Regions from separate parts of the Homo sapiens genome. Here regions 2, 3, 4, 5, 6 and 7 are each linked to region 1. Evidence: promoter capture Hi-C in 16 types of primary human blood cells and fetal thymus (Javierre and others, 2016). All regions are on one chromosome and are shown on one strand. Each heading gives the region's core, a stretch centred on a gene start or on the middle of the fragment in contact. The rest is flanking DNA. Distances are from core to core; before and after follow the strand shown.

Region 1 (3,050 bases), core at 396-2,895:
GCAACTTCTTGGTTAAGATGCCTGGCAATAGTTTTTATTTCTGGCTGCAAATTTTCCACCTAGCTAAAAAATAGGTTTTGTTATGAGCACATAAAGGATCTTTATTCATAATGACTCATAATCTTTCACATTATTCCCTCGAGTCATTTAAAAATGTAGTTTACTGATCATATCAAGAAATCTTAATTCTAAGCACAAGATGTTAATTTGCTTAAAATGTCCTCAGTCACAACCAAATTCACAATGCATACTTATCCATGTGATCCTGTGCAAGTAACTTAACCTCTAAAATCATGTTCCCTCACATATAAAATATATAACAGCACCTACTTCACAGGGTTACAAATATTAGATAAGAACTGCACCCTGGGCTTTACTGTTCCATCTCTACATTTCCTAGTAACGTAAGCGGAGAAAACAGCAGTTTGTTAAGAACCTTTAATACACTGTGATAGCCACAAATCAAAAGTAAAAATAGCATTTATTCCTGCCCTGTGCTCATTCTTCCTGTAAAATGGCTCACTGCCTTAATGTTGCTGCTGATTCCGTTCCTGTTTTGTTTCCGGTTTTTTTTCCCCATGCTCACAACCTGAAAACAAGAAAGCCACTATTTTTGAAATATCCCATTTGAATAATCAAGCACTTTAACCCGTATTATCTGACTTGCTCTGATAACGCTGTGAAGTAGGCAAGGAAGGTACTGCTAGCCTGATTCCTCAGAAAAAAGGATTCAGCATTAAAAGGTCAAGTAACTGCGACCAACCAGACACAGTCTTAGTCGGGTCTGGAGAGGAAACAAGTTCGCAAACTGTTAGTCTAGTAGTTTCTTCCTAATAAGAAAGACCAGCTGGAATACTTTGGGACGAAAGACACTGCAGACATACTGGCTATTAAAACTTTTAAGACATAAATTTTGTAGGTTTCGCCAACACAATTTCTTCTGCGACTGATTTCTTTGTCTCCGTTCCCCGAGAGCAAGTATAGTAACCACTTGTGCTTGGAGCACAAATCCAGTAAGACAAAAGAAATGACAGGTACACGTGTCACAAAGTATCTTATTTAACACACCTAATGCTAGTTCAATTTTTTTTAACGCTAAAATGGTCACAATGAAATGGTCACGATGATTAAACACTAAGCACTGCAGAAGGCAACATCGTGCGATCGAAAACCCTGAGTGAATGTCGGCCTTCCTCCGCCGCAGGGGTTGCAGCGCAGGGTACGCGCACGGCTCGGCGCCCCTCACCTTGGCCAGGATGTAGTGCTGGTAGGCTGCCAAAGGCAGCGTGACAGCACCCCGTAAGGCCACGGTGGAGAGCAGAATGCTGCCCCACCAGGGCAGGCCCGTGGCGGCGTGCACGCCGAGCAGTACTTCCTCCGCAACCCGCACCGGCGAAGACGCGGCCAGGGCCTCGTACCAGCCGTTCGCATGTACTGCAGAGACTGGTGCCACTGCCCACACTGGGAGAGTGGGGCGCTTGGCGCCGCTCGTAGGAACCGGCGCAAGCGGCAGGTCCCTAGCCCAAAGCTGCAGGGCAGGGAGCGGCCGCAGCCACCGACCGCCGAGCCGGCACAGCATTTCTGCACCACGGCGGAGCCCAGATCCCGGGCCTCACAATCCAGCGGACATACACCGGCCAGCCAAGGCTGATACGCGCACGCGCCAGCAACAGCGGGCATAAAGCGCATGCGCGCCTGCCTGCAGCCGCGATTGACCTTCCCAGTCAAGCCGGTGACGTCTTGCGTCGCAGTGGATGTGACGCAAGAGATAGGAAAGTCCCGCCTTTCCCACGCGGCACTGGACAGGCCTACTGCGCACACGCGAAAGTTTCCCGCTGCTAGGGTGTAGTTAGTCCGAGGCCGGACCAAAACTGCAGAGACATGGGTGGAGCCTGCTGCCCTCCGCCAGGCTGGGTGTTCTTTAGGGAGCTCTCGCCTTGTAAAGTTCATCTACACCGTGTAACTTACCATTCTTTTTCACTAAAGCTAATAGTCATTTGTAGTGGAATTATCCTTGCTCGGTTTTTTGTGACCAGAAGCTGATCCCCAACCTCTTTACGTGCACCTGATTGCTTCCGTTAGCGATTACGATAGATTATCATACTCAAGAGTCACACGTTGCTAAAGTACCTGCTTGTAGAGAGACGCATGTTTCTTGCTGACTCTGAGTGTTAAGCACGAGGGATAGTTCAGTCTCTTGTAGATTTAATTGGCCCATCTGTTCCAGTTAGTATTTGGACCACCAACTGCAAACTGAATTTCTTCGGTGTTTTGTCTTCCATGATAAATAGCAGCAAAAATCTTATAGTAAAAGTATCATCTCTTTATTTAAGGGAAACTATCACTGGCAGTACGGTGAATTCCTTGAGTTTACTTGTATCCTATATAAGCTTTAAAGAGCCTGAACAGCAGCACTGGCTGTCTTCTGGTTTAAAGGAATACGTTGAATCTACATGGACTATATAGTTTTAACTTTTGTGTTCCTGGAAACAACAAAATGGAATGTTGTGGAGGAGTTTCCTCACCGAAGGGTCACCCCTAGACTACAGACTAAAATATGTTGTGAGGAGTAAACCTTGATTTTTATTTATTTATTTATTTACTTACTTAGGAAAAGAAGCCTCCAACAATGTTGGGTAATGTCAAACGCCAGCTATTGTTTGCCCTTCACTGTGCACCTAACCAAGGGTACCCTACGATAACTTTCTCAGGATTCTGGAATTCATCTGCTTTCCAAACTGACTGATAAATCTATACATGAATTTTTAAATGTGTTTAAACACACAGCACAACACACACTATATATAAACTTTTTCTAAAAGAAAAACCTACCAATCTATTTCTTTATCCATTTATTAAGCTAACAAAAAAGCCATCAGTTGCTACTGACTACTGTTCAGCTGTTCATAATCTGAACAGAATTTTAAAGTTATTTTTGCTAGACACAGTGGATCACGCCTGTAATCCCAGCACTTTGGGAGGCCAAGATGGGAGGATACCTTAAGGGCAGAAGTTAGAGATCAGCCTTGGCAACATGGCAAGACCTCATC
Region 2 (3,050 bases), core at 154-2,653, 2.7 Mb after region 1:
GAAATTGGCTTGATACCCCAGATTAAGCCTCATCTGAAGTAACAGACTTCTCAGTAACATGAGCTAGTAGGGCTGGAGTTGAAGACTTACAGGGTAATATCTTTAAACGTTCAGTTGTTAAGAAATTGATAATACCGTGGCTCACGCCTGTAATCCCAGCACTTTGGGAGGCCGAGGCGGGCGGATCACGAGGTCAGGAGATCGAGACCATCCCGGCTAAAACGGTGAAACCCCGTCTCTACTAAAAATACAAAAAATTAGCCGGGCTTAGTGGCGGGCGCCTGTAGTCCCAGCTACTTGGGAGGCTGAGGCAGGAGAATGGTGTGAACCCGGGAGGCGGAGCTTGCAGTGAGCCGAGATCCCGCCACTGCACTCCAGCCTGGGCGACAGAGCAAGACTCCGTCTCAAAAAAAAAAAAAAAAAAAAGAAATTGATAATACCGAAGATGATCAGGGTCTCCACTCTAATCATTATTGAGTACTTACTATGTTTCAAGTACTAAGTAATATGAACGTTACAGATATTATCTAATAAAATCCCAAAAACAACCACAGGAGGCAACAATTACCATTCCTTTAAAAAAAAGTAAAGCAGGAACTCTGGGCTCTATAGCATGTGAGACACCTCAACTATTCCAAGTCCTTACCTTGGTCTCATTTCTTTTTTGAGACGGAGTTTCGCTCTTGTTGCGCAGGCTGGAGGGCAATGGCAAGATCCTGGCTCACTGCAACCTCCGCCTCCCAGTTTAAGCGATTCTCCTGCCTCAGCCTCCCGAGTAGCTAGGATTACAGGCATGCACCACCACGCTCGGCTAATTCTGTATTTTTAGTAGAGACGGGATTTCTCCATGTTGGTCAGGCTGGTCTCAAGCTCCCGACCTCAGGTGATCCACCCGCCTCGGCCTCCCAAAGTGCTGGGATTACAAGGGTGAGTTACCGTGCCCGGCCTGGTCTCATTTCTTATCTCCTGAGAGAGGTAGCTGTCCAACATTTTAGCCTCTGAATCTTTTTGTTCAAGCGAAACAGGAAGTATAAACAAATGAAACCAATCAAATGGAGCAGGATGGGGGGGCCCAGAACCCTTTTTTTTTTTTGAGAAAGGGTCTCACTCCGTCACCTGGGCTGGAGTGCAGTGGCACAATCTTGACTCACTGCAACTTCAAGCAATTCTCATGCCTCAGCCTCCTGCGCATAGCTGGAATGATAGGCCACCACGCCCAGCTACCAAAACCTTCTTTCTTGGACTCTCCTCTCCCAAGGATTTCCTAAGGCTTTTAAAAATATTTTGAGGGCGCCGGGCGCGGTGGCTCATGCCTGTAATCCCAGCACTCTGGGAGGCCGAGGCGGGCGGATCACGAGATGAGGAGATCGAGACCACGGAGAAACTCCGTCTCTACCAAAAATACAAAAAATTAGCCGGGCGCGGTGGCGGGCGCCTGTAGTCCCAGCTACTCCAGAGGCTGAGGCAGGAGAATGGCATGAACCCAGGAGGCAGAGCTTGCAGTGAGCTGAGATCGCGTCACTGCACTCCAGCCTGGGCAACAGAGCGAGACTCCGTCTCAAAAAAAAAAAAAAAAATATTTTGAGGGCTAGGCGCGGTGGCTCACGCACTTTGAGAGGCTGAGGCAGGCGGATCATAAGGTCAGGAGATCGAGGCCATCCTAACTAACACGGTGAAAACCTGTCTCTACTAAAAATACAAAAAATTAGCCAGGCATGGTGGCATGTGCCTCTATTCCCAGCTACTTGGAAGGCTGAGGCAGGAGAATCGCTTGAACCCGGGAGGCCGAGGTTGCAGTGAGCCGAGATCGCGCCACTACACTCCAGCCTGGGTGACAGAGCGAGGCTCCATCTCAAAATAAATAAATAAATAAATAAATAAATAAATAAATAAATAAATAAAAATATTTTGAAGCCTGGGGCAGTTGGCTCACACCTGCAATCCCAGTATTTTGGGAGGCTGAGGCAGGAGAATAGCTTGAGGCCGGGAGTTTGACATCAGTCTGGGTAACATAGCAAGACTTCATCTCTACAAAAAAAAAAAAAAAAAAAAAATTAGCCAGGCATGATGGTGTGCACCTGTAGTCCTAGCTACTCAGGAGGCTGAGGCAGGAAGAGCTCTTGAACCCAGGAGTTCCAGGATGTATGTGCCACCACGCCGAGCTAATTTTGTATTTTTAGTAGACAACGGGGTTTCTCCATGTTGGTCAGGCTGGTCTGGAACTCCCAACTTCAGGTGATCCGTCCACCTCAGCCTCCCAAAGTGCTGGGATTACAGGCGTGAGCCACCTCGCCCAGCCTCAACTAGTCTTTTTTTTTTTTTTTTGGGACAGGGTCTCACTCCATCCTCCCAGCTGGAATGCAGTGGCACAATCATGGCTCAATGCAGCCTTGATCTCCCAGGCTCCAGCGATCCTCCCACACCCTCCCAAGTAAGTGGGACTACTGGCTGGGAATACAGGCGCATGCCACCATGCTCAGCTAATATTTTATTTTTTGTAGAGACAGGGTTTTGCCACATTGCCCAGGCTGGTGTTGAACTCCTGAGCTTAAATGATCCTCCCACCTTGGCCTCCCAAAGTGCTGGGATTATAGCCATGAGCTACGTCTTTAAAAACCTATATACGATACTGAAGGGGCTTATAACCTACCAAAATAATAAATAAATAAAAACCTATATATGATAGATTTCAAATACAAATGATCATTTATATTTATCCTCCCAAGCAGGCATAGACAACATTCCACCTTACTACCACCCCAACTAAAAAACAATCTTATGCAATTATATTTCGTTGTTTTTGCGAGTTTTCCACTAGAAAGTTAAGTGGGCCACTGAAAAAAGCAATTTGAAAAAATGAATTTCAAACCAATGAATTTTGTTCGTTGATCTATTGTCAGGTTTGGTTTAGAAAAAGATCACTCTTAATTTTGATTATATGTATTTTAATGATTCATAGGACTCTTATCCTGAATGCTTAGATTTATGAAAGCCAGAAGTATTAACAGTGCAAGTCAGGCCGTCACAATTTGTTCAAGTTTTCTCTTCCT
Region 3 (3,050 bases), core at 268-2,767, 2.6 Mb after region 1:
ACGCATCTCCTCCAGAGCCGGACCCAACCTTCCCGTGTCCCTCTGCGGAGCACGCGCAGTACGCTGCCGCGCTCGCACACGCTCGCGCCCGGAAAGCCGGGGAACCGGAACCGGCCTAAAGCCAAGATAAGAGTCCGCTGATTTGACGTCACAAGCAGGCTGCCTTTCTCCGGTCCCGAGGCTCCAGCCTTGCCGCCCTTCTTCCTGATCGCGCAAGCGAGAGCTGGTTCGCAGCAACGCAGTGTCTTTTGTAGACTGATATTCTGGTCCTTTTTATTAATGGGAAGGAGGGAATTTAGTAATCTCTCTGAATAGGTGTCTGCAGGTTGCTGCTGTAGACGAGCTTAAAATGCAGCCGGTGATTTCAGCTGTTTGCACACTAAACTCACCTACATTGTTTACTTAACCCATCCTAGGTTTTAAGCCCCATTAAGAGGCCCTGCAGTAAAGGAAGAACATGACGTGGGCTTTACAGAGGGGGAAAAGACTATTTCTTTGTGTCCTTGTTACGAATTTAGGCATGGCTAAATATCAGTAGATACTAAAGCATTTTACATACTAAAGCTAAAAGAAGGCCTGAAATACAAGGATTACAGTCCTGTTCTAGCTCTAAGCCCAGACTTGCCCCCAGGGTGAGACACTGGTGACCTTGTTTCATGGACAAAGCCAAGCCAAATCTTGTAGTCAAGGAAGCCACTTTGCATCTTAGGTCTGGCAGTGTTTTCAGAGAATACCGAGATAGCACAGGAATTTTGGAATGAAGGACTGAGGAAGTGTTCAAAGAAACGGAAAGGAAAAAATACATTAATGAATGCTTACGAACTAAACATGGTGGACGCAAGCATGTACATCTCATCAGTTTTCTTCGCAATCCTGTAAGGGCAATTTTAAGGTATTTGGCATGTTAAGACAATACGTCAAATACCTTAAATATTGGCAGAGGCAATGCCAACATTAGGGCCTCCAAAGTCTACAATATCTTTACCTTTAGACTGCTTAAAGATACTGTTATATGCAAAATATTTGGGCAGACCATCACTTTAATGAAATCAACCTGATGTTTTTCCTTAAAGCATCAAAATACATTACATGCCGGCTGTCCTTTAATATACTGGGCTTATATACCAGGCATTCTTGTAATTATACAGCCTTCTGAGCCTCACAGTAACCCTATGAGCTAGTTGCTATATGTATGTACATATATATATATATATATATATATTTTTTTTTTTTTTTTTTTTTTAAGATGGAGTCTCTCTGTGTCGCCCAGGCTGGAGTGCAATGGCACGGTCTTGGCTCACTGCAACCTCCGCCTCCCGGGTTCAAGCGGTTCTCCTGCCTCAGGCTCCCTAGTAGCTGGGACTACAGGCGCATGCCACCACACCCAACTAATTTTTATATTTTTAGTAGAGACGAGGTTTCACTATGTTGGCCAGGCTGGTCTCGAACACACCTGACCTCGTGATCCGCCCGCCTTGGCCTCCTAAAGTGTTGGGATTACAGGCGTGAGCCACCGCACCCGGCCAGTAGTTGCTATTTTTATGCCCATTTTATAGATGAGAAAACAGGCTTGGAGAGGTCAAGTAACTTACCCAGGACTACACTGCTACTATTCACTGGAGCTGGGATTCAAACACAGGCAATCTGCCTCCACAGTCCATACCCTCAGGCAAACTATAGAATACTCCCATTGTACTAATTGCCGCAATTCACTTATCTGCCCTACTGCTGACTAACCTTCAAGTGTTTCCGGTTTGGAGCTCTTCCGTGCAATGCTATTATAAATATTCTTCACCATGTATCCTGCAGAGGTGCAGAACTTTCTCTAGAGCAGTGGTTCTCAGACCTTAATGTGCACCGAAATCACCTGTAGGGCTTGTTAAAACAGATAGTTGGGCCCCACTCCCTAAGTTTCTGATTCAACAGAGGCCCGAGAATTTGCACTTCTAACAAGTTCTCAGCTGATGGTGCTACTGCTGCTCTAGGAGCCACACTTTAAAAACCACTGATATAGGCCGGGCGCGGCAGCTCACGACTGTAATCCCAGCACTTTGGAAGGCCGAGGGGGGCGGATCACCTGAGGTCAGGAGTTTGAGACCAGCCTGACCAACATGGAGAAACCTCGTCTCTACTAAAAATACAAAATTAGCCGGGCGTGGTGGCGCATGCCTGTAATCCCAGCTACTCGGGAGGCTGAGGCAGGAGAATCGCTTGAACCTGGGAGGCGGAGGTTGCGGTGAGCTGAGATCGCGCTATTGCACTCCAGCCTGGGTGACAACAGTGAAAACTCCGTCTCAAAAAAAACAAACACCACTGATCTAGGGCAGAGGTGGGCAAACGGTTTGATAAGGGAAGGATTAGATAGTAAATATTTTTGGTTTTGAGCGCCACGTATGGTTTCTGTTGCATATTCCTCTCTCTCTCGCATCCTTTAAAAATTTAAGAAACATTTTTAGTTTAGCTCTAGAGCTACACAGAAACAGCCCTCAGGTAACCCTGCTCTTGAGTAGACACCAATAAGTGGAGTTAATGGGAAAAAAGATTCAGCGATCTTCAATGTTAAGTAAATATCTCTAACCTATTCTAACTGGCGATTTTTACCTCATAAACATATCTCTACACAAATAGCCCCTGCCCAGGTTCAGGCCCCTTCATCTTCCCAGGAAGACTGCAGTGGCCTCCTAACTAATCTCCCTGCCTCTCAAACATAGCCTCCATGAAGCAATGTCCACCTCCTATAGACTAGGCAGGGAGACCAGTGTGAACGGTATTCATTCGGTGGCTCAGGCCAAAAACCTCTTTTTCTCACACCAATTTATTGACAGCCAATTGCCAATAATTTTTTTTTTTTTTTTTTTTTTTTGAGATGGAGTCTCGCTCTGTCATCCAGGCTGGAGTGCAATGGCATGATCTGGGCTGACTGCAACCTCCACCTCCCAGGTTCAAGCCATTCTCCTGCCTTGGCCTCCCAAGTGGCTAGGACTACAGGCATGTGCCACCACGCCCATCTAATTTTTCTATTTTTAGTAGAGACGAGGTTTCACCATGTT
Region 4 (3,050 bases), core at 157-2,656, 2.4 Mb after region 1:
ATATCGCAATAATATTCTCCAAACAATGTGCTACATTCTTCACAAGTCTGTTGGGCCTAAAAAAGAAACATAATTAAAAACTGCAATAAACTAAACATTTTGAGTTACCATTTGAATATCTAGAACTTATGTTCAACTATATGCAGTTTATTTTTATAAGTTTTGAAACACCTAAACCAAAGATATTGCTTATTCTAGAAGTTAAAGAAATCTTATTTATGATACTTTTGATTAAATTTTTTCAAACCACCTTAATACAGCTTTTAAAAAGAAAATAGAAATGTCATAAAATCTTACATGTTGAATTTTTTCACAGTTTATGCACTGCACTTCCTTCACTTTAAAGCGATCTAGTTGATGATCTTCATTGTTATCATGACACAAGCGGCAAGTATAAAGCTTGTCACAGCAAGGTGCCTAACACCCACGGAGAAAAAAGAGATATAGTAAGAAGCAAAAGAAACTAAGTGTGCAATACAAAAAGAAAATTTCTTCCTCCTCCTCCTGGATGGAACTGAAAGATTACAACCAATAGATCAGTTGCTAAACTGATCCTAAACATAACATTTCACTAGTTTCTTGGCATATTTTATGTTAATTCTTCCCTTCAACATCACTACGTCTGTATGAAGTTGAACACAACTTTAAAACAAAAGAATTATGAAGGAAATCCCTAGATTGAAACACTAATCCCACAACACCTGATATGCTTTGGCTGTGTTCCCACCCAAATCTCAACTTGAAATGTATCTCCCAGAATTCCCACGTGTTGTGGGAGGGACTTAGAAGGAGGTAACTGAATCATGGGGGCCAGACTCTCCCGTGCCATTCTCGTGATAATGAATAAAATCTCATGAGATCTGATGGGTTTATCAGGAGTTTCCACTTTTGCTTCTTCCTCATTTTCTATTGCCACCACCATGTAAGAAGTGCCTTTTGTCTCCCGCCATGATTCTCAGGCCTCCCTAGCCATGTGGAACTGTAAGTCCAATTAAACCTCTTTTTCTTCCCAGTCTTGGGTATGTCTTTATCAGCAGTGTGAAAACAGACTAATATAACACCCCAATTTCATTCTGAGCCTAAACAGCAAACAGGCAACCTCTTCTTAGACATTTCCAGATAAATTCATTTACATTAAAAATAATAAAGATTATATTCTTATTTTACTAGCTTTTATTAATCATCAACCTCATATCTAATATTGCACAAAATGCAACAAATGTAAGAGACAGCCCTTGTTTTCAAACACGGCAAAGACTGCCAGTTGTCCACCAAAATCTATCCTCTCCTTCCTGGGCACAATTGTTCAGCTATATCAGACAGATGGCCACATGCCCTAAAACATGACAAAATGATACAACAGAAAAATCTCATCCCTGGAGTGACCATGTGGAGCAAAGCCTCATCACCAACCTGCATCACTCGCCTTGGAATTGTTAAATGGAAAGAAATAAAACCTTTACTCTTTAATCTACATCACTGTTGGGTTTTTTCATTACAGCAACTTTACCATTACAAGTATATCAAGAGATTTCCAGGCCAGTGACTTTCCAATACACTGTGACCTTGCAGATCCACTCATTTCTGAAGGCTTCCTATGCCTTGACTTACCATAACGTAGTTCATTCCTTAAAGATTTTAACACTTAACTGGCTTCCTTTTTCTGCAACTCTCAGTTCCTTAACTTTGTCATTTCCAATAACCTTGTCCTCCAACCCACTATTCTCATAGTTATACCGCAGAACAGTAGTTCTCAAATGGTTTGGTCTCAGGATCCCTTCACACTTTTTAAAATTACTGAGAATCCCAAAGAGCTTTGGTTTATGTGGATTTTATCTATTGACATATACCACATCATAAATTAAAAAGAATAGGTTTTTAAAATATTACTTCTTTTTAAAAGTAACAAACTCATTACTTGTTAACATAAATAACATGTTTTAATGAAAAATAACTATATTTTTCCCCCCAAACAGCTGAATTCTTCTATCTGCTTATGCATTCAAACAGTTGTGGCTGAAGTACAAAAAGAAACTCTGGCCTCACACAAATATGTACACTGGAAAAGAAAGGAGTATTTTAATAGCCTTTTTGGAGAATTATGGATATCATTCTCTGATATTACACTAGAACAACAACTCTTAAAGGGTAGTTGCAACATGAAATCTGAAATCGTATCAAGGAATATGATTGATATGATGCCTCTTTTCTTCCTTGGTTACATTAAAATCTATTGCTCTATCTTGCACTTCAAATGGATGTTTTACTCATGCATTGGTCATCTGGAGAATACCAGTTCAGTGAGTTATTTACATCTTCTAAATGTTCACACATTTAACATGCAATATCAAAAAATCATATTCATTAAAAGTCTTTAGGTATTGAAGAAAATCTCACCAAAAAAAGTCTTTTAAAAAGCTTCCAACCTCACAAAAGCTAGTAAAAGTTTTCCAAAATTCTAATTTTTGTGTGAAAGCTTGAATTTTATCACTGGCAACAAATACTGTCATTTTCATTTGTAGTGAGTCTCACTTTTCTCCTTTTTGAGAAAATGTCTGCCAACTACCCAAATGTGAATGACTACAATTTTTTCAAGTAAAAAATGCTGTTCCATGAAAAAAAGCAACTAGTTCACTTTACAATCCAATTTGCACAAGAGCTTTTCCTCAAGACAACCCTCTAATTTCAGTTTGCAGAAGTGTTTGATCAAAACTTCCCATGTCATTGAACAGCATATTAAAAGATATATTCAAGGGTTGAGATTTGGTTAAAATTAACGATTTTACTGCTTTATCAACATTTTTAAGTGAAGCTGGCTTTTTAAAAAAACTATAGGTGTAGTATAGTTCAGTGCCACTGTCTTGATTCAAGCTAAGATACTAGCAATACTAAACAGTGCTTTTCCACCATCAATGCGTGTGTCAACAGACTGAAAAAAAAAAAAAACAAATATCTTAGTGTTCATAGAAAGTAGTTTTGGCCTTGCAGAGCCCCTGAAAGGACTTCAGGAATCCCCAGGGTTCCATTCACCACACTTTGAAAACCAATGC
Region 5 (3,050 bases), core at 301-2,800, 2.4 Mb after region 1:
AAGATAATCTCTTAGGAACCTGGGAACTTTCACACTATAAAACTTTTAAATTAATTCCTGTATACTTATTTAAAACTAAGTCTTTTTCCTCAGTACTCTAAAATGGAGAGGAATTAGTCCATATTCTTTGTAGAATACACTTCATATATTTTTATAAACTAATTAAGCTACTCCTTATCTAAACAACCTTAATTTCTTAATACACTCATGTAAAGAGACTGTATTTGTTTAAAATTATTCAGATATTATTTCCTTTCTAAAAATTTGAAAAAAAGAATGCTCTCTCTAGCTCTTCACATTTTTGCTCATCAATATGTAGGACCAAAATACAGTCTTCTCTTTTCAATTATTTTCATCTAATTTTAATATCTTTTCCATTAATAAAGTCTTAGCTTTAATGATCACTTCACCTACTTTCTTTTAGTTTACTATACTTGGCCAATATAACAACCTAACAAATTTTTGGCAATATTTTTCAGCATTTTTACAACACTATAACTGCATCTGGCAAAAACTGCACTTCCTGGTATATATGGCCAGAAAAAAAAGAGGTAACTACCTCAAATTGTGGGAGGAGACAAGATTTAAGAGAAACATATGGCAAAAGTGTAGTTCTATATCCAAGACACTTTGTCCTGTTTTAACAATATTCATCTACCCTACCCATTTCAATATAAATATTGCCATGCCCAATATAGTATAAGTAACAATGTTTGTCCACCTCCCCACACCACACACACAAAAAAGTCAAACATCTTACAATTATTTTTAAAATCCCAAACACTCACTCTTTCAACATTTCTTCATAACACGTTCTGAAAGAAAATATAAGATTATTTTAGTAAAACAAAAACTGTCTCCACTATTTTCAAACATCATTGAGAAAAAGATGTTACTTTACCTATGTAAAAGATGTCCACATGGCAAGACATGAGCAACAACACGGGATGTGTGAATGTCCTGTAAATGAAATAAATGTTAGTGCTTGTATGAAGACAATATAAACATCCAAGTATTTTAAATTCAAGAGCTGAGACTTCCAAAGTAAAAAATATTTTAAGCCTACCTCCAAACATATTGGACAATTCTGTCGGGACACATTTTCAATACACTGTTTAAAAGAGAAATTCACATTAACAAAAGCTTAACTAGATTAAAATGTCAGGTATAAAAATATTAATAATAAAAATTAACAAAACCAACTTACTAAAAATAATAGCTAACATTAATATATGCTTTTTATATGTAAGAAGAGTTTTTTAATAGTTATTTAAATCTCACACTATTTCAGGCTTGGCATATTATCTGATACAATGAAAATGTCAATAAACATTATTGAGATTACCTTCATTTCACAAATAAGGAAAGTGACTTAGGAATTCAAGACACTTACCCAAGATCCAAAGATAATAAGATTTGGAACCTTTGCATATTATGTATGTTTTACTCCAAAGCCAGTGACCTAAATTAGTAAGCTCAACTTACTAATAATATTGGTAATAATAGTTCATATTATTGAAATTTACTACATGCCATGTTCAGCACAGTACCTGTATAAGATCAATTAAATCTCACAATCCTAGATGAAATAGGCTATGATTGTTATACCATTTTACAGTTAAAGCAGTGGAGGCCTAGAGAAGCTAAGGAACTTCCAAAGTCACACATTAATAAGAGGCAGAATTAAACTGGAGCTCCAGCAGGCTAACTTCAGAGCCAGAGTTCTTAATTTGACAAGATGTAATGTCTGATTAAATCCAAGGAGGTAAGGGAAAGCACTGTGCCATGGAAGACTCCCAGGTTTTTAACGGAAGCACTTAATAGATGGCAGGACCACTTAGTAATATAGACAATAAAAGATAACTGAAAAACAACATAACAAAAAAAACCATAACAAAAAAATAGATGTAAGTTTTTGAAAGATGACAGTATAGTGGGGAGAAAAACCCTCAAAATAATAAGCTTAATAGTAAGTTTAAAAATCTAGACTGTAATCCTAGCTCTGCTATTTACCAGCCCTTGAGATTTTGGACTAGCCACCACTTTAGTCTTAACGTTTCTTATTTATAAAATAAAATTAATACATATTTCATTTGATTCTAAAGTGCACCTCACACATACATTTTAACATCCCCACAATTACAACATATCTGATCATCAGTGGCATCTCTGAGTTGATGGAATGTAAATGCTGAGGTGAGGATGCAATGAATTAGTGTGTGCACACACACTACACATGCTTTGGAAACCAGAACATCATAGAAATGTAATCTATAAGATACTATTGACTCCTGGCTATCTCCATTAGCATAGCTTGCCATCACCCCAAACTCAAGTTTAAAAACCAAACTCAATCTTTTATCTTCAAAAAATTTACAATCTACTAATCAAGTACCTTAAGCTGGGGCTGAAAATCTTCAGAGTCATCTTTACTCTGCCTCATTCTTTTTCCTTAATACCATTACCACATCATATATGTTCATTATTCATCTCAATTTTCCTCACCACTTTACTATTTAGGCCAAGTTCTAGCTAATATTATATTTCTGCAATAACTTCTTATTCTTATATTCTATCGAACCTACTATACTGCTAAGTAAATGATTTCAAACAGTCTCTTTCCAATTAATGTCTATCTGTCTCTCTCTCTCTCAACAGCTACAATGTTGCTACTTATACTGTTCTGCCTTATCTGGAATTTCCTATACTTGAACAAGTACGATTTACACTTCACTTTACACCAATCCTCCATTCTCTTAATTAAATTCTTACAGTAGATAGAATCAGTACTATAATGTAATACTTTATTAGATTTTTTTTTAAATAATGAAAAAGGGCCTGGGATTGTGACATAATTCCTACATCCAGATTTAAAATATGTATGTCTTAATTATAAAAAGAAATAGTAAAATATTTTCTGAATTTTCTTAGAATGTTGTGCTAATTAGGTTACACCATTCAGTATTTCTCCTGTTTTAAAGTTATTCTTAAAAGCAGTACCAATGGTAAGAATCCATAAACTAACTTGGAAGTTGCCAACATTATGCTAG
Region 6 (3,050 bases), core at 300-2,799, 2.4 Mb before region 1:
GAAATTGTCACCATTGGCTGGGCGCGGTGACTCACGCCTGTAATCAATCCCAGCACTTTGGGAGGCCGAGGCGGGCGTATCACGAGGTCAGGAGATGGAGACCATCCTGGCCAACATGATGAAACCCCGTCTCTACTAAAAATACAAAAATTAGCTGGGAGTGGTGGCGCGTGCCTGTAATGCCAGCTACTCGGGAGGCTGAGGGAGGAGAATCACTTGAACCAGGGGGTCGGAGGTTGCAGTGGGCCGAGATTGCCACTGCACTCCAGCCTGGCAACAGAGCGAGCCTCCGTCTCAAAAAAAAAAAAAGAAAAAAAGAAAAAGAAAAAAGAAACAAAAAACAAAAGAAAAAGAAATTGTCACCATTAATTTTATTTTATTTATTTATTTATTTATTTTGAGACAGAGTCTCTGTCTGTCGCCCAGGCTAGAGTGCAGTGGTGCGATATCGGCTTACTGCCACCTCCGCCTCCCGGGTTCAAGTGATTCTCCTGCCTCAACCTCCCGAGTAGCTGGGATTACAGGTACCCGCCACCACGCCCCGCTAATTTTTTGTATTTGTAGTAGAGACTGGGTTTCCCCATGTTGGCCAGGCTGGTTTTGCACTCCTGACCTCAAGTGATCCACCCACTTCGGCCTCCCAAAGTGCTTAGGATTATGGGCATGAGCCACCGCGCCCAGCCATGTCACCATTAATTTTAGCAACGTATCAAAAGTTCAGCTTCCAACTACCTACATTAAAAGGTATAATAATACTAACCCTGAACCTTACATATGTAATGCCTAAAAACTTACACCCTGAATTACTCTAACATTACAGGGCAGACTTCCTTGAGAAGAGTCAGACCCTGCAGCGGGGCTCTGCCTTCCCACTGTCAGCCTCGGGGTCATCTAGCTTTATCGATCCCCATGGAGCGGGTCACCGAGCCCTGTGAGCAGGGAGAGGGCGATGGGGATGAGTAAACCCGAGCCGGAGGCCCGGCCTGCGCTCTCGCCCGGAAACCTCCCGTGGGATTCTGGAGTCCAGCGGCGCTGCCTGAGGCTGTGGTACCCAGAAATATGGTATTGGGGGTGGGGGTGAAATGAGAGGAAAGCAATCTGATTAACTTCCAGCCTGATAAGCAGAAAAGAGAAAACAAGGGAGCAGGAAAACTACGCTAGCACTAGACTGCCGGTCGCAAGCGCCGGGTACACACGCAGTTAAACCTCAATGGAACGCCCCCGGGACTTCTCCGGGGCGTAAAGCGCAGCGCCCTCTATTGGCCATCGGGACCTCGCCTGGAGGTGCCGTCAGGATTCCGTCCCCCAGCCACTCCCAGGCACTCGAGAGTAAGCGCATTAGCCCGAGAAAGCGTTCTGTGGAACGGAACTTCCTTATCCTATCGTTTCCACACGGAAAGATTTTAATTCACCGGAATCGACTGGCGTTAAAGGGCACAGTGAAAAGGAAGTTGGTATCAACGTGATCTCGACTAAGGGACCGAGCGGAAGTCCTCAATCGTACGCCACGCGGAGAGCATGCTGGGGGCCGGAAGGAAGAGGAAATTCCAGTAGCCGATCAGGAGTCTGCAAACTCCGGTGGTAGGGGAGCGCGCTGCTGTTTAGAGCCACGAGTTACCGGAGCGCCTGATTCCTGCGCCGAAGTCAGTGGTGGCCGAAAGTCCGGAGTCGCTGTAAAACCTGAGATTGTGAGCCATGGTGGGGAGATCCCGGCGGCGCGGAGCAGCTAAGTGGGCAGCTGTGCGAGCCAAGGCAGGTCCCACGCTCACCGACGAAAATGGAGATGATTTAGGATTGCCACCCTCACCAGGGGACACCAGCTACTACCAAGATCAGGTAGATGACTTTCATGAGGCACGATCCCGGGCCGCCTTAGCTAAGGGCTGGAATGAAGTACAGAGTGGAGACGAGGAGGATGGCGAGGAGGAGGAGGAGGAGGTGCTAGCCCTAGATATGGACGATGAGGACGACGAAGATGGAGGGAATGCGGGGGAGGAGGAGGAGGAGGAGAATGCCGATGATGATGGTGGGAGCTCCGTGCAAAGTGAAGCTGAGGCCTCTGTGGATCCCAGTTTGTCGTGGGGTCAGAGGAAAAAACTTTACTATGACACGGACTATGGTTCCAAGTCCCGAGGCCGGCAGAGTCAACAGGAGGCAGAGGAGGAGGAAAGAGAGGAGGAGGAGGAGGCACAGATCATTCAGCGGCGCCTAGCCCAAGCGCTGCAAGAGGATGATTTTGGTGTCGCCTGGGTTGAGGCCTTTGCAAAACCAGTGCCTCAGGTAGATGAGGCTGAGACACGGGTCGTGAAGGATTTGGCTAAAGTTTCAGTGAAAGAGAAGCTGAAAATGTTGCGAAAGGAATCACCAGAACTCTTGGAGCTGATAGAAGACCTGAAAGTCAAGTTGACAGAGGTTAAGGATGAGCTGGAGCCATTGTTAGAGTTGGTGGAACAAGGGATCATTCCACCCGGAAAAGGAAGCCAATACTTGAGGACCAAGTACAACCTCTACTTGAATTATTGCTCGAACATCAGTTTTTATTTGATCCTGAAAGCTAGGAGAGTCCCAGCACATGGACATCCTGTCATAGAAAGGCTTGTTACCTACCGAAATTTGATCAACAAGCTGTCCGTTGTGGATCAGAAGCTGTCCTCAGAAATTCGTCATCTGTTGACACTTAAGGATGATGCTGTAAAGAAAGAACTGATTCCAAAAGCAAAATCCACCAAGCCCAAACCAAAGTCTGTTTCAAAGACTTCTGCTGCTGCCTGTGCTGTTACAGATCTTTCTGATGATTCTGATTTTGATGAAAAAGCAAAACTGAAGTACTATAAAGAAATAGAAGACAGGCAAAAGCTAAAGAGAAAGAAAGAAGAAAATAGCACTGAAGAACAGGCTCTTGAAGATCAAAATGCAAAGAGAGCTATTACCTATCAAATTGCTAAAAATAGGGGACTTACTCCTAGGAGAAAGAAGATTGATCGCAATCCCAGAGTGAAACACAGAGAGAAGTTCAGAAGAGCCAAAATTAGAAGAAGAGGCCAGGTTCG
Region 7 (3,050 bases), core at 322-2,821, 2.3 Mb before region 1:
TGTAAATGGAATTGTTTTTAAATTTCTTTTTCGAATTGTTTGTTGCTAATGTATACAAATATAATTAATTTTTGTGTATTGATCTTGTACCTTACAACCTTGCCAAACTCATTTTATGTACATACTTTGTGTGTGTGTGTGTGGATTCCTTAGGATTTTTTATATACAAGATCATGTCATCTGCAAATATAGTTTTACTTCTTCCTTTTCAAACTGGATGCCTTTCATTTCCTTTTCTTGCCTACTTGCCCTGGCAAGACTCGCCTATACAATTTGGTTAGAAGTAGCAAAAGTGGGCATCCTTGTCTTGTTCCTGATCTTTGAGAAAGCCTTCAGTCTTTTGCCATCAAGTTTGTTAGCTGTGAGTTTTTTGTAGATGCCCTTTGTCAAGCTAAGGAAGTTCTTTCTCTTCCTAGTTTGTTGAATGTTTTTATCATTAATGGATATTGGAACTTGTCAAGTACTTTGTCTGCTTCTAATGAAATGACCATGTGATGTCTTTCTTTACTCTGTTAATTTGGTGTATTACACTGATTGAGTTTTGTGTGTTGGACCGACCTTGCATTCTGTGATTAATCCCACTTGGTCCAGTTATATAATCCTTCTTATATGTTTCTGGATTTGGTTTACCAGTATTTTGTTAAGGATTTTTGTGTCTGTATTCATAAGGAGTATTGATCTATAGTTTTCTTATGATATCTTTATCTGATTTGGTCTCAAGGTAATATTAGTGTCATAGAATGAGTTCGGAAGTTCTCTCTTCTAATTTTTGGAATAGTCTGTCAAGGATTGGTGTCAATTCCTTAAATGACTGGTAGATTTTAACAACGAGACTATCTGGTCCTGGCCTCCTCTGTATGCTATTTTTTTATTATTATTACTAATTCAGGATCTTTACTTGTAGGTCTGTTCAGATTTCCTATTTCTTCTTATGTCAGTTTTGGTAGTTTGTGTCTAAGAAATTGTCCATTTTGTCTAGATTATCTAATATGTTGACATACAGTTGTCCGTAGTATTCCCTTATAATCCTTGTTTCTGTAATGTCAATACTACTGTCCCCTCTTTCATTCCCGATTTTAGTAATTTGAATCTTCTCCCTTTTCTACTGATCAGTCTAGCTAAATGTCAGTATTGTTAATCTTGTCAAAGAGCCAACTTTGGATTTTATTGATTTTTCTCAGTAGTTGTTTTTGCTTTTTAATTTATTTCTGATCTAATCTTTATTATTTCCTTCCTCCTAGGGCTTTCTACTTATATACATGTATGTTGGTTGCCCTTGATGAAGCCAACTGTGAAATCATGGAATTATAATATGCTAGCTAGGAGAGTGATCTAGGCCAGTGCTTCTCAAACTTTAATGCACATACAGATTGCTTGGGGATCTAGTTAAAGTGCAAAACCTGATTCAGTGGTAGTGTTGAAGTCTACAGCTTCCCTTGTCTAAAAGCTTTCCTGGTTATGCCAGTGTTGATGTTCTGAGACCAGAGAGTAGAAAGGATCTAGTTCATTTGGTATCAATCATTTGTGGGATTTTCCAAACAGAACATGTCATTTCTCTGGTTCCAGGTATATTAATATGTCTCTCCCTTTGAGAATCAGTGCTGCTATATGTCATTATGACTATTATGAATGTGCATGGTTTCCAAGGGAAAAAACTGAACAAGCCCAACCCTCTCATTTTACTGATGAGGAAATTGAAGCTTCAAAGGGGTGAGATTTCTTGCCTGAAGTCATATAATAGGTTAATTGGCTCCATGGATGAGTATATTAATCCTTTCTGATGACAAGTCCTAACTCAGTGAAGTTCATCATTGATTATACTGTTACCAAGAAAAGGTAGCAATGAGGACAAGTAAATTTATGGTTAATTTTTTTTTTTTTTTCGAGATGGAGTTTTGCTGTTGTCGCCCAGGCTGGATGGAGTGCAATGGCACAATCTTGGCTCACTGCAGTTTCTGCCTGCCGGGTTCAAGTGATTCTCCTGCCTCAGCCTCCTGAGTAGCTGGGATTACAGGTGCCTGGCACCACACCCAGCTAACTTTTGTACTTTTAGTAGAGATGGGGCTTCCCCATGTTGGCCAGGCTGGTCTCGAACTCCTGACCTCAGGTAATCCACCTGCCTCGGCCTCCCAAAGTGCTGGGATTACAGGTGTGAGCCACCAAGCCTGGCTGGTTAATTTTTTTGACTAACCCCTTTAACAGATTTCAATCCAGAGAAAATGTTACTTAAGTAAATTTTCTTATTATTGAGTAGAAATATGATACCTGAGACGCCATTAAGAATAGATAGATATAGTTATGGATATAGATATATAGATATTCTAAGGGTCCTAAGACTCTATTATAATTTTTTTTTTTTTTTGTAAATGAGGATAGAATAAAAGTTCATGATTGTCTCATACAAATAAGTGTCATCAGGCTAACTAAATGGTGTTTTATTACAAGGTCTTTTTCAGTACTTTCACTTCTTTCTTTCACAATTAAGGACTCATTTTCTGTCCAGTTTTATACGCTAAGGTCTTTTTAGTACTTTCACTTCTTTCTTTCACAATCAAGGACTCATTTTCTGTCCAGTTTTATACTCTAAGAACAATTATTGCAAAAGTTCAAAATAGATTTATTTAAAATTATTGTTCTTCAGTCATTCCCAACATAGAGTAAGCTTTTCTTTCTATATGTTTCTGTTAGTTTGTTGTTTTTAATCTCATATTAAAGCTTTTTTTTTTTTCTTTTTTTCTTGAGACGGGGGTATCACTCTATCTCCCAGGCTGGAATGCAGTGGTGTGATCTTGGCTCACTGCAACCTCCGCTTCCCGGGTTGAAGCGATTCTCCTGCCTCAGTCTCCCTAGTAGCTGGGATTACAGGCGCCTGCCACCATGCCCAGCTAATTTTTGTATTTTTAGTAAAGACGAGGTTTCACTGTGTTGGCTAGGCTGGTCTCAAACTTTTGACCTCAGATGATCCTCCCTGAGCCACCGCGTGAGCCACCAGCGTGAGCCACTGCGCCCAGCCAAAAGCTTTTACACATCTTTGAAAAGTCTTCTGTGTG

Evidence for each region. Contacts are between HindIII fragments. The CHiCAGO score rates a contact against its expected background, and 5 or more counts as called.
Region 2: a fragment that was not itself captured here is called in contact with the fragment with the promoter of COX18 in region 1 in 2 of 17 cell types (non-activated CD4 T cells and fetal thymus); the score reaches 8.6 in non-activated CD4 T cells.
Region 3: a contact is called between a fragment that was not itself captured here and the fragment with the promoter of COX18 in region 1, in 2 of 17 cell types (total B cells and non-activated CD4 T cells). The highest score is 7.3, in total B cells.
Region 4: a contact is called between a fragment that was not itself captured here and the fragment with the promoter of COX18 in region 1, in 1 of 17 cell types (total CD4 T cells). The highest score is 5.0, in total CD4 T cells.
Region 5: a fragment that was not itself captured here is called in contact with the fragment with the promoter of COX18 in region 1 in 1 of 17 cell types (total CD4 T cells); the score reaches 5.2 in total CD4 T cells.
Region 6: a contact is called between the fragment with the promoter of UTP3 here and the fragment with the promoter of COX18 in region 1, in 10 of 17 cell types (non-activated CD4 T cells, activated CD4 T cells, naive CD8 T cells and 7 more). The highest score is 16.3, in non-activated CD4 T cells.
Region 7: a fragment that was not itself captured here is called in contact with the fragment with the promoter of COX18 in region 1 in 2 of 17 cell types (total B cells and naive B cells); the score reaches 7.0 in total B cells.

What each region holds. Positions count from the first base shown.
Region 1 is chr4:73,068,071-73,071,120 of GRCh38, forward strand. COX18 (cytochrome c oxidase assembly factor COX18) reads right to left here and starts at 1,646. Exons shown (of 6, transcript NM_001297732.2): 1 at 1,247-1,646; 2 at 1-59. The coding sequence starts at 1,579. It overlaps LOC112268467 (a long non-coding RNA gene), which reads left to right and starts at 1,876. Exons shown (of 2, transcript XR_002959797.2): 1 at 1,876-1,959. RefSeq lists enhancers at 965-1,480, 1,415-1,934, 1,481-1,997. The HindIII fragment of the contact is 3,732 bases long and covers 1-2,388 here.
Region 2 is chr4:75,718,942-75,721,991 of GRCh38, forward strand. It overlaps a transcript of G3BP2 not described here. Among named protein-coding and RNA genes, the nearest start is that of USO1, 4.1 kb to the right of the region's middle. The HindIII fragment of the contact is 5,465 bases long and covers 1-3,050 here.
Region 3 is chr4:75,673,498-75,676,547 of GRCh38, forward strand. It overlaps a transcript of G3BP2 not described here. Among named protein-coding and RNA genes, the nearest start is that of G3BP2, 1.6 kb to the left of the region's middle. RefSeq lists enhancers at 1-13, 750-1,727, 1,728-2,704. The HindIII fragment of the contact is 4,310 bases long and covers 1-3,050 here.
Region 4 is chr4:75,508,880-75,511,929 of GRCh38, forward strand. RCHY1 (ring finger and CHY zinc finger domain containing 1) reads right to left here. Exons shown (of 9, transcript NM_015436.4): 2 at 298-417; 3 at 1-56. Among named protein-coding and RNA genes, the nearest start is that of RCHY1, 4.0 kb to the right of the region's middle. The HindIII fragment of the contact is 2,019 bases long and covers 398-2,416 here.
Region 5 is chr4:75,490,823-75,493,872 of GRCh38, forward strand. It overlaps RCHY1 (ring finger and CHY zinc finger domain containing 1), which reads right to left. Exons shown (of 9, transcript NM_015436.4): 5 at 1,067-1,111; 6 at 902-960; 7 at 789-815. Among named protein-coding and RNA genes, the nearest start is that of RCHY1, 22 kb to the right of the region's middle. The HindIII fragment of the contact is 819 bases long and covers 1,142-1,960 here.
Region 6 is chr4:70,686,983-70,690,032 of GRCh38, forward strand. It overlaps UTP3 (UTP3 small subunit processome component), which reads left to right and starts at 1,550. Exons shown (of 1, transcript NM_020368.3): 1 at 1,550-3,050. The coding sequence starts at 1,696. RefSeq lists enhancers at 475-1,445, 826-915, 1,446-2,414, 1,616-1,675. The HindIII fragment of the contact is 6,672 bases long and covers 1-3,050 here.
Region 7 is chr4:70,752,182-70,755,231 of GRCh38, forward strand. All of the region lies in intron 1 of RUFY3 (RUN and FYVE domain containing 3), which reads left to right. Among named protein-coding and RNA genes, the nearest start is that of RUFY3, 32 kb to the left of the region's middle. The HindIII fragment of the contact is 253 bases long and covers 1,446-1,698 here.